Linked DNA regions of Homo sapiens: regions 1 and 3 are each linked to region 2. The links are contacts of gene promoters, found by promoter capture Hi-C in blood cells and fetal thymus (Javierre and others, 2016). All regions are on one chromosome and are shown on one strand. The core of a region is centred on a gene start or on the middle of the fragment in contact, and the rest is flanking DNA. Distances in the headings are between cores, read along the strand shown.

Evidence for each region. Contacts are between HindIII fragments. The CHiCAGO score rates a contact against its expected background, and 5 or more counts as called.
Region 1: a fragment that was not itself captured here is called in contact with the fragment with the promoter of DPY19L1 in region 2 in 1 of 17 cell types (monocytes); the score reaches 6.4 in monocytes.
Region 3: a fragment that was not itself captured here is called in contact with the fragment with the promoter of DPY19L1 in region 2 in 1 of 17 cell types (M2 macrophages); the score reaches 5.1 in M2 macrophages.

Annotation. Positions count from the first base shown.
Region 1 is chr7:39,946,528-39,951,061 of GRCh38, forward strand. CDK13-DT (CDK13 divergent transcript) reads right to left here and starts at 2,892. Exons shown (of 1, transcript NR_158201.1): 1 at 994-2,892. CDK13 (cyclin dependent kinase 13) reads left to right here and starts at 3,729. Exons shown (of 14, transcript NM_003718.5): 1 at 3,729-4,534. The coding sequence starts at 4,115. RefSeq lists enhancers at 223-517, 1,967-2,156, 2,178-3,097, 2,287-2,336, 2,597-2,726 and 3 more and silencers at 3,287-3,516, 4,307-4,534. The HindIII fragment of the contact is 2,093 bases long and covers 294-2,386 here.
Region 2 is chr7:35,035,534-35,039,819 of GRCh38, forward strand. It overlaps DPY19L1 (dpy-19 like C-mannosyltransferase 1), which reads right to left and starts at 1,952. Exons shown (of 22, transcript NM_001366673.1): 1 at 1,564-1,952. The coding sequence starts at 1,861. It overlaps LOC105375228 (a long non-coding RNA gene), which reads left to right and starts at 1,253. Exons shown (of 3, transcript XR_001745162.3): 1 at 1,253-1,388. RefSeq lists silencers at 1,642-1,811, 1,842-2,511 and an enhancer at 2,562-2,791. The HindIII fragment of the contact is 4,166 bases long and covers 359-4,286 here.
Region 3 is chr7:31,807,430-31,811,773 of GRCh38, forward strand. PDE1C (phosphodiesterase 1C) reads right to left here. Exons shown (of 18, transcript NM_001191057.4): 16 at 1,602-1,679. Among named protein-coding and RNA genes, the nearest start is that of PPP1R17, 120 kb to the left of the region's middle. The HindIII fragment of the contact is 1,279 bases long and covers 1,546-2,824 here.

The DNA.
Region 1 (4,534 bases), core at 90-2,589, 4.9 Mb after region 2:
GAGTGCAATGGTGCACTCTGGGCTCACCGCAGCCTCTGCAACCTCTGCCTCCCGGGTTCAAGCGATTCTCCTGCCTCAGCCTCCCGAGTAGCTGGGATTACAGGCATGCGCCACCACACTGGGCTAATTTTGCATTTTTAGTAGAGACGGGGTTTCTCCATGTTGGTCATGGCTGGTCTTGAACTCCCGACTTCAGGTGATCTGCCCGCCTCGACCTCCCAAAGTGCTGGAATTATAGGCGTGAGCCACCGGGCCCGGCCCTGACCTTCCATTTTTTAAGAATCATTTCCATAAGCTTCGCCCAACAACTTCCACTTCACTTCATTGGCAGGAGCCAATGATCACGTCTTATCTGCAAGGAATACTGGGAGATGTAGTTTTTAGCTAGGCACATTTACCCCCATCAAACCCAGGATACTGTTACTTAGGTAATCAAGGGAAAATCCATTTAGGAAGACAGCTAGAAGTTTACTCCACCATTACTGTTTTATAAATACGTATCCCTCAGCTTTACTGAACCAGCAAGAATTCCCACTCCCCAGCACATAGAAGCAATATTGCACTTCTGAAAAAAAAGTGCTAACACTGTGGGCCTCTGAACTGCATAAAAGATGAGTCTGGGGCCTGGTGCAGTGGCTCACGCCTGTCATCCCAGCACTTTGGGAGGCCGAGGCGGGCGGATCACCTGAGGTCAGGAGTTTGAGACCAGCCTGCTCAACATGACAAAACCCCGTTTCTACTAAAAATACAAAAAAATTAGCTCGGCATGGTGGCGGGCAACTGTAATCCCAGCTACACGGGAGGCTGAGGCAGGAGAATCGCTTGAACCTGGGGGGCGGAGGTTGCAGTAAGCCAAGATTGCACCCCTGCACTCCAGCCTAGGCGACAAGAGCAAAACTCTGTCTCAAAAAAAACAAAAACAAAAACAAAACAAAACACGAACTCCCCACCCCCCCACACACAAGCAGTAATAAACAAAAATATAGTCGTAAATGGGAATTTCAAATCTCTTTAATATTCAGGCAAGCAGACAGGCTTATAGAAACAGACGGCTTCTAATTCAAAGGTCCTTCCCATTTTTTGGAGTTTGAATCCTATTAGTTATTAGTGTTTCCAACCACGTGGGCAGGTATCTTGAGCTCAAAATGTTCATTCAACCTCCCCCACCAAAGGTAGAATCTTTGAGGAAACGTGGGTGGTAGAACCACAGTAAAAATATTTTAGTACATGTTTTTTGTTTGCACCCTGGATTGGGAACTATCCATTTACTTTTTTTCCCTTCTTCTCCATTTAATACACTTACACATGGGAATTATCCATTTACTATGGATCAAGTTTTCTTTGAAAATATATGATAGAAGATGACATTCTCAAGTGGAACTGGTTGTACACGAGGGGAGCTGCAAGCTAAACCTCTTATTTGCTCTCTTTGTTCTGTTATTCCAGTCTATCTAACGTAGGACGATGGAACAAGTTGATCCTACATGTTTCTGAAAAAGCCACTTGCTAAACAGTCTTTGGTAGGAGGCTGGCTACAGGACCTTCACTCAACAATACTGTCAACCAGAAATTTGTTTTAGGAACCCTGCCCCCTATTTTTCTATTCAGTTTCCCAATGCCCATCCCATGGTGTTGCCCACCCAGGCCTGCCCTCCTGGGAAATGCTCTGACTTTAAGATTACCTATTCCTTTGCCTCCTCCTTTATCCTTCAGCAAACCAACATCCTTTGTACTCGGTCAGTGAAGTCTGATCTTAGCTTAAATCAGGCCAGTCTGTGATACTGTGATGTCAAACTGATTAAAATAATTTACACTAAGGTATTAACGATGGATAGATACCAAGTGTTTAAGAACTAAACCAACTGATGATCTGAACAAATGAATTTTCAAAGGGGTTACTACATTTAGTCATTGAACAGACGGCTTAGCTTTTTCTTTTATTAGAGGCAGGGCCTCGCCCTGCTGATTGGCCAGGCTGGGGTGCTGTGGCACGGTCATGGCTCACTCCAGCCTCGAACTCTTGAGCTCCAGAGATCCTCCTGCCTCAGCCTCCGGAGTAGCTGGGACTACAGGCGTGTGCCACTGCACAGGGTTAGCTTGCGTTTCCAACCATTCTAAAAGCCAATAAGCCATTTACATTTTAATCTAATTATCCCGAGTGCTTAGTCTGTAACTGAAGGGCAATTCTAAGGCAAGAAATGAGATGTGAGGTCACTATATGGCTATGTTTGGCAACCCCAAAGGTTTAGATATGAAGGTGAAAGTGGGTGAAGTACTAAGAGGGCAGTCCTCATTCGCACAAGATGTTTTTATTTCAAGCCTCCTGAGAATTTGGAATTTTCAGTAGTTCCTTTTAACATTCCACTTATTTCCTGTATTGATTTAAAGCTTTAAAAATTTTTATTTTAAAGTAAATAGTGTTACCGAAGCTTGAGCTGTGATTCCCAAGTGTGTTTTTTAGGATAAGAAGGGGCCTCGCGGAAGTTGCGGTGAGCCGAGATCGCACCATTGCACTCCAGCCTGGGCAACGAGAGCGAAACTCAGTCTCAAAAAAAAAAAAAAAAAAAATGGGGCCTCGAACTTTGGCGTACGTGAGACAAGTTAAACCAACGCCATCTCCACCCTGTTTTGCGGGGTGTTTTCTCTCCTTTCGCAGCTGTTCCACTCCCAGGGCTTGACTGAAGGTACACGGGGGGTAACTGCCTACTCCAGAAGGCCACCAACAGCATTATTTCCCTCGCAGTCTCCAGAAACACTTGTTCTCACTGTGACCTTTCGCTCAACAGGCAGGCAGTGCGGCGTCTGCAGAGCCGGAACCGGCACTGCGCGCTGGACGCAAGCAACAAGCACGACAGGCGCGCCACCACGGGCAGAGTCTCAAGCAACAGCAGTGGGCGGCACACGAATCCTCTCCTTTCTTTAACCCTTCTTCACACGGAGTCCCACCCTCGCCGGAAGCCGAGCGGTTTCTACATCATGCCACTTCCGGTGCGGCCTGCCGGCCCCTGGCGGGAGCGAGCACGCCAGTGCGCGGTAACTTTGTTCCCGCCTCTCTTGCCCCGGCCACCTCTCATCTTCGGCTTTCTCTGAGCGTGAATTGCGGGCGCGCTCCCGGTCGTACGTCAGGGCTGAGGGGAAAAGCCGAAAGAGCGAGGCGAGAAGGAGGGGTTGTGGAGGTTAGGGCCCAACCAGCAAGTCCCGTTGCTCTCCCTCCTCCTGACGAGGAGCGGAGAGGGAAGGGGAGGAGCGAGCCGGGGCAGGCCGCGCACACCAGGAGCCTCCTCGTGGAGGGGGGGAGCGGAGGAAAGGGGTAGCTCCGCCACCTCTGCTGGCGGCGGCGGCGGCGGCGAAAGAAGAAGAAAGTCAGGGCCCGTACCTACCGCCACAGACTCAGAAACGCCCCTGCCCCCATCTCCCCGGAAATAGCCCCCCGCCCAGCCCCGCACAGTCGCTGCCCCAACCGAGAGCCGCAGCCCGGTCGCCCCCGCCTCGCCCCGCCCCGCTGCCCAGCCCCGCGGGCCGCAGAGTGCGCGAGGCCCTAGGCCGGGAGTTGTTGTCAGGCCCAGGCCACTTCCGAGGCGCCTGCGGTGTGTCGCCGCCACCACAGGAGGACGACGTCGACGCCGAGGAGGAGGCGGTGGAGGCGTGTTGTTGTCTCGCCCACTCCCCTCCCCTGAACTTGCACCCAACGTCAGGGCGCGATGGAGTGAAGCGGCGACGAAGGTGGTACTTCCGCGTTGCGCTGCCCGAGCCGAGAGCGCGGCCAAGGCCGCTCCCCCACCCCCGGGGGCACTTGGAGGACTCGGGACTCCCCCGCAGGTCAGCGCCCGGCGCATCTGGTGTTTTCGCTGCCGAGGATAGGACGACGAGCGCAATCGGGAGCTCCGCCGCCCGGATTCCTGCTTCCCTGGGGCCCGGAGGCTGCTGCGTACCCCACTGTGACCTGGAACCCAGGGACCCGAGTCCCGACCCGGATTATCGTGGCGCTTTTCCCGGCCGGCTCTGGTGCTCGGTGTCCCTCCGCCGCCGCTCCCGTTTCCGGCGGGGGAGATGGCCAGGATCTGACCCGGGAGGAGGCCGCACCCGCGCCGCGCTCTGCGGCTGGCTCTAGGCGATGCCGAGCAGCTCGGACACGGCGCTGGGGGGAGGCGGGGGCCTGAGCTGGGCGGAGAAGAAGTTGGAGGAACGCCGCAAGCGGAGGCGATTCCTGTCCCCTCAGCAGCCGCCGCTGCTGTTGCCGCTCCTGCAGCCGCAGCTCCTGCAACCGCCGCCGCCCCCGCCGCCTCTGCTCTTCCTGGCTGCTCCCGGCACGGCCGCCGCCGCAGCCGCCGCCGCCGCGGCCTCCTCCTCTTGCTTCAGCCCGGGCCCCCCTCTGGAGGTCAAGCGGCTGGCGAGAGGCAAGAGGCGCGCAGGAGGGCGGCAGAAGCGGCGTCGCGGGCCCCGCGCCGGGCAGGAGGCGGAGAAGCGTCGGGTCTTCTCGCTGCCCCAGCCGCAGCAGGACGGCGGTGGCGGTGCTAGTAGCGGCGGGGGTGTG
Region 2 (4,286 bases), core at 702-3,201:
TGTTTAGTCATTCAATAAAAATGCAACTCCATTCTGTCATCAGATCTCAAATCAGCATCACACACTTTCTTTTATTACAACAACTACAATGTGTCAAGTGCTCTAAACACAAAGTATCTTCCCATGTATCACCCACACCTTTTAGTTATGATCCTTAACAGATCCTGTGGATCCCTGTGGAGTAAATTCGCCATGTGATAACCCCCCACTAGCAGAGAACGAAAGACTCACAAAGGAACCTGAAACTTAAACCAAACTGAACCGCTGTGTACTAGATCTGAAGGCTCTGCCTCATCCACTGTATCGTGCTGCCTCCCCAAGGTGAGCTTTTCTAACCTGCATACTAGCCAGCTTTTCAAGCTTGCTACTGAGATAAAAAAAAAGGGGGCGGGGGGAAATGTGCTGGAAACAGACAAACAAACAAACAAAGAAAAACAAACTTGGTTTTTCTAGGCTTGAATCGGCAATGGGGGGAAAAAAAGTACCCTAGGAACAACCTTCTTGAGCCCATTAAAACATACAGAGATGACTGGCTTTTTATGACTGAGTGGCTTTTATTTGTGGCTGTGATCTCAGGGGAAGCCAATTTGCTGTGTCCTATTCCTTGACTTATACTGGACCCCAACTCCTGGCTAAGGGAACTTTGAGTCACCAAGGGAATCTGAAAATATACTAAGGGATAAATCAACAGTAATTAAATAGTTCAGTAGCGAAAAGCCCACTGAGGCATATAGAAAAAAGCAATGTAACAGCATTTCACTAGTTGACTTAGAAAAATTAGGCCTGTTATCCAAACTGCTACAACTTGCCTTATCAAAATTCAACCAGGAAACAGAGGAAACCTGAAGTCAGTCCGAAACATACGAATGCGTCAACTTTGTTTTTTTTTTTCAGCACATCATTACACATCATCCATTTGGTAAATGGCAGAGGGAGGGGAGGAGAGCCCTCCTCACCAAAGGTTCCAAGGGCAGCAGGGAGGATTAAGGCTCGGGCGCCCCAAACACAACACAACCTAGAAAGTGACGTGTCGAGGGGAATCACAAATAAAGTGCCACCAGCGGCGTTTGCGGCCAGGAAGAAAAAAGTACGCTAAAATTTAATTATAAGTTTAAGCAACTCTCTACGACATGGAACGTGCGTTTGCTTTGAGCTCCACGGAATCGTTTCCAAGCCAAAGCAAACCATCCTGGCGGTCAGAGGCCGAGATAACGGGAAGGCGGCCAGTCGTACCAATCAGCAGCGCTCAAGTCTCGTTAGCGCAGACCTGCTGCCCGCGGCCAGGCCGGGCAGCTGTTGATCCCCGGGCCATTCTTTTAAAGCCCAGGCAGAGCGCGGGTGGGAAGCGTGCGAGGAGAGCTGAGCCAGGGAGTTGCGGGGAGGAGAAGGTAAGAATGTCCCAGAGAAAAAGTCGGAGAGGGCTGCAAACTGGCTGGTCCGGCTGGCGGGGCTCGGCGCGGCGGAAGCGGGAGGAGAGGGGAAGGAAGGGGAGGGGAGGGGAGGGGAGGGGGCCAGCGCCTCAAAGTTCCGCGTCCCGGCGGCGCCGGCGCTAGGGCTGCTCACCTAACAGGAGCGTGGTCCAGGTCCGGCCGCGCCCCGCGCGCCGCAGGCCCAGCGCCCAGCGCAGCCGGGCGGCCAGGCGCCCCCCAAGGCCGCCCCCGGCGGGCGGCGCGCCGGGCTCGGCGCGGGGCCCCTTCCTGCCCGCGGCGCCCTTGCGCCCCGGGGACAGGGGCGCGCGCTCGGGCCCCGGCTCCCCGGCGCCGACGTCCGACGCCCCCCTCAGCGGCGACTGTGAGGCGCGGGGTGGCTGGGGCGGCTTGGGAGCCGCCTCCCGGTGCTTGTTCCGCGCCTGCAGGACCATCTTGGCATAGTCGCGCCCGCTCGCTGCGCGCGCCCGGACGGCGGCCAGAGAACGGCGGGCTGGCTGGGCGGCTGGGCGCAGCTCACTCTCCAGCGGGCGGGCGGGCGGAGGGTGGAGGGCGGGCTCGTCCCTCCCCGCGGGCCGGGAGGCGGGGAGATCGTGGAGGCCGGGCGGCTGCTGCCTGGCTGGCAGTACCGCCGGGAGGCGGCGCCGGACTTGCTAGCCCGCCGCCGTTGCCGCCGCTCCGGTTGTCACGGCGACCGCGGAACGCCGGGGGGCGGGGGCGGGGACACCCTGCGAGCGGCCGCGGCCCCGCCCCCGCCGCCCCTCTGCGCCGGACGCGCGCTCCAGGCCGGCCAGCGCGCACGCGCGGACTTCCGGCGCAGGCGGGGCCCGACCCCTCTGGCGCCCGGCTACCCACACCTCTTCGGCGCCCGCGCGGGGCTCGGCCGGTGCGAGGACGCGGGGGCGGACGGCCTTCCGGAGGCGGCCGCCCTTCCATTGTGGGAGTGATGGGGCCGAAGGAAGAGCCCTCTCGGGATCGGGGCGCTGATTCAAGTTTCGGAGCCTGTTAAGGCTGCGCTTGGAGCCCGCGCAGGCGAGACGCGGCGGGGCAGGGAGAAGGCGCCCGGAGCGGCCACTTAGGGGCGCTGTGCGTGCGCCCTGGGCGCCTGGTCGGCCCCACCGATGTGAAGCGCGCGGGTGGCAATCAAGTCACCGTCTCCGTTTACTCCCCGCAGTGTGGTCGCGCAACTTGGAGCGCAGCCCCTCACTCACCGACAAGAAGAACGGGTGCGACCCGATTTAAGATAGTAACAGAGTATTAAAATAGCAGCCTGGAATCTCATGGGGAGCTGATAAGGGACGAGGCACAAGTGTAAACTGAAGACCAGGGTAGGAGCCAGGCTGAAGGTGATAGGATGGATTGGCTGGAGCAGGAAAGATCATCAATAAGTACATTCAGTTTGTTACACTTGCTGTAACCTTGTTGCTTAATAGGAAGCAGGAAAACTTGGCGTTGATAAGATAGGAGATTTTAGTCGAAAATATGTTTTCTTTTACATAGCAGAATGCACGAGTAAATTAAACCCGGGAAAATTTAGAAACCCAGGTAGATCCCAATTCTCCCTCCACCCCTGCATTCTTTGCACACAGTCTTACAACAGCATGGATTACAACTGGGAGGTTCCTTTCCTGGCCGTGCCCAGTGGCTTGTTCCAAAAAGTTGTCTTTAAGTCCCAATGTTGTAAATCAAGGCCCATCGTTCTGCTTATCTCTATTGTAATTCCAGGGACTTCACGTGGCTTTCTCGCTCTTTGTTTCTTTGCCCAGTGATTTCTTTACTAATACCAGCATTCGTTCATTGTTAGCCTTTTTAAGAGACAGTGGATTATTTTGTAAAGGGAGGGTGTTTGCCATGCTAATTAATACTCCCTCATACCCTGTCTAGTTTATGAATTTGGATTTTCCAATGTCTTTATTGGAGCAAAGAACAACTATTTTTATACACTGGTTTAAAAAATAATGGTTGAAAGTAGGATGCAGAAGGCTTGGATTCTGAAACATTGTGTCAGCTGAACTCAATGCTACCTCTGGGATTAATGTTGAATGTATTCAGTTAAAAGAAAGCTAATTCAATGCCTATTAAAGATAATACGAATAACTGGCCGGGCACCGTGGCTCACGCCTGTAATCCCAACACTCTGGGAGGCCGAGGCGGGCAGATCACGAGGCCAAGAGTTCAAGACCAGCCTGGCCAAGATGGTGAACCTCTGTTTCTAATAAAAATACAAAAATTAGCCAGGCGTGGTAGCAGGCGCCTGTAGTCCCAGCTACTTGGGAGGCTGAGGCAGAAGAATCGCCTGAACCCGGGAGGCGGAGGTTGCAGTGAGCTGAGATACGCCACTGCACTCCAGCCTGGGCGACAGAGCGAGACTCCATCTCAAAAAAATAAATAAATAAAAATAATACAAATGATGGATTTTTTTTAATGATTAGAAAGACGCATGGAAAAAGAGGTTCAACATTTGAATTATTAGATTGCTGTGTGTCTACTTTATGTGATAGGCCCTGAATTCAGGAACTGCCTCCCTTAAGCTGGTACCGTTTGTACCAGGAAAACACTTGTTGAATGAGTGAGTGAATGAATGCAGTTCCACAAGTGCTTGTCAGTTCCCCTTCTCGGCTTGGCAACCATGCGGAGAGGGGCAGTGTGAGGTATTAGTTTTTTGGTTTTTTTGTTTTGTTTGTTTTTTTCTTAAACACGGTCAATTTAGATCCAGTTTGCAGCCACTACATTGACCCATACCAGCCTTGACCAAGGTATTATACCTCTTTGAGTCTGGATTTCTTCATTCTTAAAATGGAGGCAACAAAAACATCTAGTTCACAGGTTTGTAAAAAATAAGACAATGTGTGTAAAGCA
Region 3 (4,344 bases), core at 935-3,434, 3.2 Mb before region 2:
TCTTTTAAATACTTGGGTATGATTCAGTTACAAAGGGCGCAGTTAAAAAGGCTTTATGAAGGTGATAAAATATAATCCACAATGCCCACATGACATCATTATAGCAGATGTTTGTACCACAATATACAAATGCAACAAGATTCAAAATGGCATACGAAAAATTTGGGACTTGATTTATTCTGGGCTTTTATGCTATAGAAATTTAACAGGAAGCTGTGGGCCAATAGTTGGATACAGGATGGAGAAAGTGTCTGGGTTCTGGGTTTGAAGTTGACAGCGTTCCTCCACTGTACATTTTCTGGCTTTGGTTGCCTTGATTTGGTATTGATGGCTGGCAAAGAGCCTCTGGTATTTAAACAAACCTTACCTATAATAGAGTCTGGCTCAGAGACTGTCATTCTAAATTCTATTTTGTTCTGTGTAATTTACTTCTTAGTCACAATTATTCAAGAAGGGTACACTCATTAGGTAAGTGATTTCCATTTGCATAAGCACATTGGTAAAAAAAAAAAAATTGCAGGTATGTGTTCCCCAGGTATTATGTAATAAGACACCTGGAGTTAATTATTTGCATTGTCTTTTTAGAAAAAGTTTGAGAACGGTTTTCATGCATGCAAGCAAAGACAGCATGTCATAACAGCTTAGGGCTGAAAGCTAAAGGGGCTGCTTCCTTTATAATAGATGTGCAAAGAATTACGTTCCAATTTATTCTTACTCTTCCACCTGGTTACCCAGCATTTGTTCTTCAAAGGTATTCTAACCAAATGATTCAAAGAAGAGTTTAGCATCAAATATGATGTCTCCAGGGAGGTATGATTTAGAGAGTCTGGGATTCTCTCAAAAACCACTCCGTGGAAACTTTAATTTTTAGCTTAATATGATGTCTGTGTATGAGGGGATAACTAGTAATGAACCTGTGTGATAGCTGAAACAATGAAGTTTATGTAAAAGGCCAGGGCAGGTGTTTCAATCTTATAGTTCAAAGTGTGAAGGGTAATATAATTTGAACTTTCAGGTTTTAGAAACAGTAAAATGTTGTTAATCTTGCGTTTTGCATTGTCATTGCCTTTAGGACTTGTTCTTGCTGGCAAAACTGTATTTTACAACCATATATGCTGCCTCCCAACATTAGCACTATAAAGACCCCTGTTTTTGTTTTTGTTTTAAACAAAAATAAGAACTAGTTCAAGGAAAAAAAACATGAAAACATAAAACATGGAACATTTCTTATTTATGCTGCATGATTCCCCATCAAAAAACTTATAAATACATTAGCAGTATATGATACTCCATTCTAGCTGTCTGATCAGCAAGTCTAAAATAAACTTTTTATGATGTTTAAGATGAAAAATGGCAAGTAGGAAAAGAAAGGGTATAGAAAACATTTGTGATGGAGAAAGTGGGGTGAAGGGGAAGAGATACAGCAATAATTTATAAATTATTGATAAAGGGATAATAGTACCCTTTAAATATAGTGAAGGGTTTTTTTCAGGATATAAGAATATATTCACAACCACTATTTCAATTTTGGGTATGATTCTAACAAGCTTACATTAAACTGCACATTTTATGGAAAAATGTAATGAGAATAATACTCTTACCATCTGTTTTCTTTGAATCATTTCCGATGTTAGAGTGATCCTTCTTGTCTGTCTTATTTTTACCATCTTTGAAGTCACCTGAAAGTAATAAACATGACAAACAGTATATGTATGCAGCTGAGGGGGTTGTTATAAACATCTTTAAGTCTGCCAAGTTTTGAAAAAGTGCAGCATAATTTTATAGTCATAAGAGTGTATGTGTCTGAGTGTAAATATCTTTTGTAATCACGTTAGGTCCTGGAAATTGGATTGTGATGCAGAAATTGAGGCTGAAAGTTCTTGTTAAACAGAGTTGTAGTTAAGTTATGTGCTTATCTTCTAAGAGAAGCAGTTAAGATTTACTGTTAAGCTGTGGAGTGAGGAGAAACCCGAGCTAACTGTAAGTTCTACCAATTAATAGCTATTTAACTTCTCTGTGCTTCAGTTTTCCTATCTGTAAAATGGGTATGTTAATACCTACCTTATAGGCATTTTGGATAAATTAGAAGGCATATCACTCAATACAGTTATTATTATTCTAAAACAGAGCTAGAAATGGTATTTTAATAAATGATCTTGTCAAAATGTAGTTTGTAAAAGTTGTAAAATGCTATTCTTAGAACACGTGTCAAAAATGTATTTAACCCACTTATGAGGGAATAGTAAGAGGATTCCAAGAGTACTGGAGCTGGGTATTGACAGGTATTTTAGAAACACGTGAAAATATATTTGCTAAGTTAGAGACAAAACTGGGTATATCCTACAGGGCAATAAAACCATAACGTTTGGGGTTATCTTCTCTCTCAGTCAAAAATCTATAAATTAGCATATAACTTCACAGTACCTAGGCTTGAATCAAATAGTAAGTAAAGTTAAACACAGTCATGTTCTTCAAGAGTAGCATTCAGCAAATTAAGGCCCCTGGGTCAATGGTGCCCACCATCGATTATGGCAAATACATTTTCTTGAAACATGGCCACACTTACTCATTTACCTATTGTCCTTGGCTGCTCTCATGCTGCAACAGCTGAGCTGAATAGTTGCAAAGAGACAGGCAAAGCCAGAAATATTTTCTCTCTGGTTCTTTACAGTATAACAGTGCTGCATCCCTATCTAAAATAATTTAATAATCCCTGGGCATGTGTGTTCAACAATATGCCAGTATTACATGAAAAGGTCAGGGGCCTCTTCACCCAGCCTTATTTTCAAGTGTTGGATATTTTCTTACCAGTCTTACTAATGGAAGCTTTCTTTTTAGCCTGCATAAAACCAAGAACACATTCTCACTCAAATACTGGTACTTATTGAAGCCAAAAGATCCCAATAATAATTGGAGTGAGCTGGGCCTCCAGGGAATGTGTATGAGGGACAGGATTTACTCTTGTTTACTTTATTTGTGCCAGGCAGTATGCTAAATGCTTTGCATGCATCATTTTATTAAATCTTCTAATAGCCCCATTATGAAGGGGCTACTATTATTGAAAGTAGACAACTTCATCAAAGATTCATTCACTAAATGTCCAATTTGTAAAATTTGCTGAATATCCCACTCACCAAATGATTGAGGATGTTTTCCAAATTTAAGTTTTTTTCTTGAGGTTCCTGCAGCCAGTTAGACAAACACAGGCCATTCCATCTATGTTAAGGGGTATGGACTGCCCACACATACATTTCATACCCCACCCTGAACTCACATCTGCCACAACCATGCACCTGGATCTCCCTCTTGGCATAACTGCCAAGCCCTCAACTATAGTATTTGCAACTTCTCTATGAAGTTCAAGTTTTAGATTTCAGACTTCTGTTTACTATTTCCATTTCTAAATGCCTTTGGCCTATGAATTTATAAAGAACTGATTATCTAAGCATGATTCAGGACTATTGGGGGCTGTAATATATTCTACAAACCACATACTTGCAATGGAATTTGACAAATACTAAGCTAAGCTAGAAGTCAATAAACTCTTCAGGTTCCCTCTCATTCTTAATTCTGAAATGGGATGGACCGTGATATGGTTTGGCTGTGTCCCCACCAAAATCTCATCTTTAATTTTACCTCCCATAATTCCCATGTGTTGTGGGAGGAACCCAGTGGAAGAGAATTGAATCATGGGGGCAGTTTCCCCCATACTGTTCTTGTGGTAATGAATAAGTCTCACGAGGTCTGGTGGCTTCATAAGGAAAAACCGCTTTTGCTTGGTTCTCATTCTTTCTTGCCACCACCATGTAAGATGTGCCTTTCACCTTCCACCATGATTGTGAAGCCTCCCCAGCCACGTGGAACTGTGAGTCCATTAAGCTTCTTTTCCTTTATAAATGACCCAGTCTTGGGTATGTCTTTATCAGCAGTGTGAAAACAGACTAATACACACTAGGTGGAAGAATTGAGGAGCAGGGGAGTCTACTCTGGCCAGGGTCCAAACAGGAGGATTTTAAGTGCAGGACATGGTCATCACCTCTTCCACCACCAAAAGAGAAGAAATCCTTCAGAGGTCCCACAAAACAGTCCAAATACTGGCTTTTCCCTATTTTAATGAAGCCAGAGATGGACTCAAGGATCTTGAGCACTGTAGTCAAACTAGTTCCTTCTAGTTCATTCTTCCCTCAATGAGCCCCCACACTCTTAATGCATGCTTTTTAAGCCCTCTAGGTTGCTCTGAACTGGAGCTTTACCCACAGCTACAGCAACACCAGGATGTCTTCTGGAAGTCGTGGAGATGGTTCCCTTTGCTGGTTGCTAACCAGCAGCCCATGATGGTTCCTG